Regions from separate parts of the Homo sapiens genome. Here region 1 is linked to region 2. The links are contacts of gene promoters, found by promoter capture Hi-C in human tissues and cell types (Jung and others, 2019). All regions are on one chromosome and are shown on one strand. The core of a region is centred on a gene start or on the middle of the fragment in contact, and the rest is flanking DNA. Distances in the headings are between cores, read along the strand shown. Region 1 overlaps GCOM1 (GCOM1, MYZAP-POLR2M combined locus). Region 2 holds the start of CGNL1 (cingulin like 1).

Region 1 (2,700 bases), core at 39-2,538, 310 kb after region 2:
CAGCCTGGCTGGGAAAGGAAAAATGTCCCGACCTCTTTGTCCTCTCATTCCCTGATCCCCTGCTACCACCTTGCAGTAGGCCAAAAGGAACTGAATTTGAAGGGCAAATGGATGCTGACTTTTCCGGGCCACAGAGTAGGGTGGAGAAGGGGCAGAGTAGGGCTGAATGGCAAAAGAAGAATGCCCAGCACAGCTGTTATGTCTCTGTTATAGTTCCTAACACAGTACATGAAAATTTTTTATGTACATATCTTTCCCACCAGGTGACAAGTCCCTTGAATGCATGTTTCATATTTTTCTGAACCATGGATGCCTAGTACAACCTTTACAGGTTGTTAAAAATAACTTTTTTATTTTTAACCTGTCGTAGTCTGTTCTGGCTGCCATAACAAAGTACCATAAACTAGTTAGCTTATAAACAACAGAAATTTTTTTCTCACAGTTCTGAAGGCTGGGATGTCTAAGACCAAGGTGCCAGCAGATCCAGTGTTTGGCAAGGACTTGCTTTCTGGTTCATGTATAGTGTCTTCTTGCTATGTCCTCACATAGCAGAAGGGATGATGATGAATATTTCTGGGGCCTCTCTTTTTTTTTTTGAGATGGAATTTAGCTCTTGTTGCCCAGGCTGGAGTGCAGTGGCATGAACTTGGCTTACTGCAACCTCTGCCTCCCGGGTTCAAGCAGTTCTTCTGCCTCAGCCTCCTGAGTAGCTGGGATTACAGGCATGTGCCATCATGCCCAGCTAATTTTGTATTTTTAGTAGAGACAGAGTTTCTCCATGTTGGTCAGGCTGGTCACGAACTCCCGACTTCAGGTGATCCCCCTGCCTCGGCCTTCCAAAGTGCTGGGATTACAGGCGTGAGCCACCACGCTGGGCCTGGGGCCTCTCTCATAAGGCCACTAATCCCATTCATGAGGGCTCCACCCTCATGACCTAATCACCTCCCAAAGTCCCCACCTCCTAATACATCACCTTAGGGGTTAGGATTTCAAAATATGAATTTGGGAAAACGTAAAGTCCATTGCAGGGCCTGTTTGTAATATTTAAGTGAAATATTAAGCTGCATTATTGTCTTTTTATTTTTAAACACTTAAACACCATTTTCTAGAGTTGTCTTACCATGTGAAGCATATGGGGGGTTTTGTTTTGTTTCATTTTCCTGACCTGCATTTTCTCATTTCTCAGCCAAACAGGCAGGACTCGTGAAATTGTGATGCCTTCTAGGAACTACACCCCATACACAAGAGTCCTGGAGTTAACCATGAAGAAAACTCTGACTTAGGCACTCAGAGGCATACACTTTTTACAGATGGACAAAAGCTCTGGAACCCTGTGGCTTCAAATCCTTTGGGAAGGGTGACTGTTGTTTCCCCTACACACAGTGTAAGCCGGAATGGGAATCGCTGAGGCTCTGATCCACTTCTAAGACAGGAAGGAAAGTGAAGGCAGAGTGAGCAGGTAAGAGAGGGATATACAAGGTCACATTTCAGACACCCACTCGGCATACCCTGCCGTACTGCATCATCATTTGTTTTCTTTGTAGACACTGAAATCCTATCAGGAGGATTCCTTCACAATGTATTTTATTTGCTAGACTTTGGTTGGGAGGGAAAAGGACATTAATTTGAAGTTTCATGTTATTCATGCCAGGATTGTTTGATAGAGCATGAAGGTTTTGTTTACCCATAAAAGTATTAGAGGCAGCGTTTCTCTGATACAGAGAGGCCTGTCCACAAGAAGCATGGGCACCCAGCCAAACTTGAACCTGGAAGGGAGGGTTCCCGGCCTGCAGGTGCTCTTTCCTCTTGGTCCCAAGCATCTGTGCAGGGTCGTGGGAGCCACACTGAGAGACTTGTGTGGGCCAGACAAGCTTCATTCTGATGCGCTAGTCCCTTGGTTTAATTTGTGCCTTATGCTTTCATTGGACCAGCTGAAATCACTGTATTTATTCAACTAGTGATTTTTTTTTCTTTCTCACTTTAACTTAAAGAGAATTTTATATGTCTTGGAAATTTAATAATTTAGTGTTCTCAGTATCAATTGGTGTTTTTGTTAAACGAATGAATCATCTGTTCATGCATGCTCTACTTTGATATTATAACCTATGTCACATGTGTTTAATAAATACCATATATTTTGTTCTACTAATGTTGTCTCTCTGTTTCATCCATGACCATGTAGAAGGGGCAGAGAGCAGATCAGGCTCTGGAATGAGTGTCAAAGTCAAATCACATGATCTTCCAGCCAGTACAATTCATACAAGCATCTGTAAACCATAAGATTGACTGTGTGTGTCGGGGGAGGGTGGGGGGCCTATCTGTCTTTTTAATTGCTGAACTTTAGTTAATACACCATGTGGAAAAAGCAAGATACCTTAATGATCACAAAGTACAAAAATAGATTTTACTTTTAAACCTTTCCTCAAACCTCCCACCCCTTACTGTCTCCACTTCCAAAAAACCAAAGAAATAAAAAAGTAAGAAAGCAAAGCAACTCAGTTAGATAAATCACTGTGAGTCAGAATCATGCTAAGAGGAAAATGTGCATTTGGGAGCCACATTTGTATTTAAACACTGTCCGTGGGACCTTGGGCGAGTCGTCAAGGCTCTCTGAATATTAGTTTCATCCTTTAAAAACCTCGGATTATCACACCTACTTGATAGGCTGACGTGAGTGCCACATGAGGTCATTCCCACATA
Region 2 (2,700 bases), core at 158-2,657:
ACCTAGACCTGCTAACTCTGGAATAGTGCAATACCGCTTCCTCCAAAAAGACTCCCTTGACCATGCTGCCCACTTGGGATAAGTAGCATCTTTTTTTTTTTTTCTTTCTTTCCTGGCAATGAATCACTATTATTAGGTCGGAGCAAAAGTAACTGTGGCTTTTCCCATTGAAAGTAATAGCAAAACTGCAATTACTTTTGCACCAACCTATTACTTTTTCAAGTCCTTTTATATTGTTTTGAATTGTTAAGTTTTCAAGGGTCTATTTCATTCAATATGTCAGCAAACATGTATTAAGTACAGGTTGGGCAGGGCGCAGTGGCTCACATCTGTAATCCCAGCACTTTGGGAGGCCGAGGCGGGTAGATTACTTAAGGTCAGGAGTTCGAGACCAGCCTGACCAACGTGGTGAAACCCCGTCTCTACTAAAAACACAAAAATTAGCCGCGCGTAGTGGTGGCCACCTGTAGTCCCAGCTACTCGGGAGGCTGAGGCACGAGAATCGCTTGAACCCGGGAGGCAGAGGCAATGAGCCGAGATCGCGCTACTGCACTCCAGCCTGGGCAAAACAGCAAGACTCCATCTCCAAAAAAAAAAAAAAAAAAAAAAAGTACAGGTTGTTGTTTTCTCAGGGAATCCTCATAGCTGGTGAAGTATCCAGCTTTTCATTTTACGGATGAGTGAACTGGGGTTTAGAACTGATAACATTTTGCCCAAGTTCTCACAGCTAGCGAGAGGCGTGCCGCAGTTTATCGTGGGGTGGGTCTAAACAAGGACCTAAAAACTGTATTCGAATCCCAGCCCTACTACCGCCAGCTGTGTGACCTTACGAGGCGCCTCACTTTACTGTTTCTCCAACAGAGACAGACATTTCTTGTTACCGCGCAAGTGGGATAACCTCCCCACCAGTGTCTAGACACAGTAGGTGCTCAATAAATAGGTGTGGGTTTGCGGTGGCAGAAGAGCGCTATCCCTTAAGTTTCTGACAGTGAGGGGGAAAAAGGCTAAGCAGGGAAAGGAAGGGAAAGGGGTAAACTGAGCTCGGCGCAGTCGAGAGCGCGAAATAGGGAGGGCTTCCTGCAGGCCAGGAATTTGGAGAGGCCGAGGCTGGGAGAAGAAAAATGCCCGGTGACGGCGGAGGGGAGGTGGAAGGACGAACGGCTCCGGGAAGGGGTGAGGTCTAAGCGCAGCCCCGGGCCCAGCGGAGCCGAGGGCGGGTGGTGCGGGGGTTCCTGGGTAGGTTCGTCCCGACGGGCCGCGGGCGGATTGAAGGGAGGGTTGGGCCCGCCGGCAGCCCCGGCGGGTCCAGGCCCCCGGCCAGCCCCTGCCCCTCCTCCCAGGAGGGCGGGCGGCGACTGCGGGGCGGGGCGCGGGCTCGCTCGGCCTCCCGGCGGCGCCGCGGCCCTTGCACTCCGGCCGGGCTCTGCTGGCTGCGGCGGGAGCTGGACGCGGGAGGAGGCGGCGGCGGCGGTGAGTGAGCTCCGGGCTGGAGCGGGGCGGGGTGTGCGCCGGCAGCCGGGTTTCGGGGTGCTAGGGGCCGCCCAGGGCGGCGGGACCCCCAGGGGTTCGGGCTCAGCCAGGTGCACTGTGCTCAGTCCGCGCGTCCACTCTCGGTGACCCGCGCCGCGCGTGTCCTGGGGCTCGAAGATGCGACCCGGACTCCCGCGCCGCGCCCCGCCGAGGGCAGGCGCAGAACAGATGCGGGCGATCCCTGGGGAACCCGCTTCGGGGCGGGGTGGGAGGGAGGAGGCCCTGCAGAACCTCCCTTTAGTGAAGAGGGACTTTCTGCCTTCGCACCCCTGCCTGGACCCTCCGGCTCTAGTGACAGCTGGGAGAGACTCACACGAAGCAGTTTCTGACCTATCCTGTCGTACACAAGTCCTCGGCGTGCTCGGCCGGACCATCCCCTGGAAAGAAAGGGGCGTGTGACCTTTCTCTCCCCGATCCTCCAGACCACTGCGCCGCCCAGGGAGGTCATCCCCGAGAGAGCCCCCGCCTCACTCGGAGCACACATTCTAGCTCTCCCCGGGACTTTTCCAAGTTGCATCACTGTTTGGCCTCTAGACAGGTACTTGGCTGTCATGTTGGAGTTAGTTACACAGGATTTTTGAAACTTTGTATATTTGCTTTGTGTGTTCTTCACCCTAAGGCCGCTGCCCTCCCGACTCTGCTTATGCCGCTCAAAACGTTGCTCAAAGCTCGCTGGGAATGCTTTTGCGGGCATTGGTTCTCAAACTTGGCCCCACATCTGGAGAGTTTTAAAAAATACTGGTGCCTGTGTCCCACTCCCAGAGATCTGGATTCGGCTTGCCTGGGTTGCAGCCTGGACAATGGAATTTTTAAGACGCCGCAGGTGATTCTAATGTGCAGGCAAGTTTGAAAACCTCTGCTTTGAGAGTTGCTCCCACCAGCCACTCTTCGGACGGCTCAAGATCAGTCCTGATCTAGAACTCATCTCAGGTCCTCATAGCTCTTCCCTAATCCACCTCTCCACCTGAAGAACCTGTTGATTGGTGCTTTCCAACTTTAGACAGTAGATGGTGCCTTTACTGAAGATCCCTTTGTTTCTACCTCTCTGTTTACAGTCAATACTGCCAGGGCACTTTCTGCCAAGGAGGTGGGAGTGTAGGCATTAGAACCGAGCAGTCCTTGTCAGGGTCAAGGTTATAATACAGGGTTGTCCTATTCAGGGAAAACCAA

The links. The method cuts DNA at HindIII sites, captures the fragments that hold promoters and counts their contacts. A contact is called where the count stands out against the background at its distance.
Region 1: a fragment that was not itself captured here is called in contact with the fragment with the promoter of CGNL1 in region 2 in 1 of the 25 tissues and cell types used here (neural progenitor cells).

Annotation. Positions count from the first base shown.
Region 1 is chr15:57,683,216-57,685,915 of GRCh38, forward strand. GCOM1 (GCOM1, MYZAP-POLR2M combined locus) reads left to right here. Exons shown (of 17, transcript NR_104371.3): 12 at 1,187-1,459. MYZAP (myocardial zonula adherens protein) reads left to right here. Exons shown (of 13, transcript NM_001018100.5): 13 at 1,187-2,149. The coding sequence ends at 1,283. Among named protein-coding and RNA genes, the nearest start is that of POLR2M, 22 kb to the right of the region's middle. The HindIII fragment of the contact is 8,067 bases long and covers 1-2,700 here.
Region 2 is chr15:57,375,098-57,377,797 of GRCh38, forward strand. CGNL1 (cingulin like 1) reads left to right here and starts at 1,408. Exons shown (of 19, transcript NM_032866.5): 1 at 1,408-1,470. The HindIII fragment of the contact is 14,520 bases long and covers 1-2,700 here.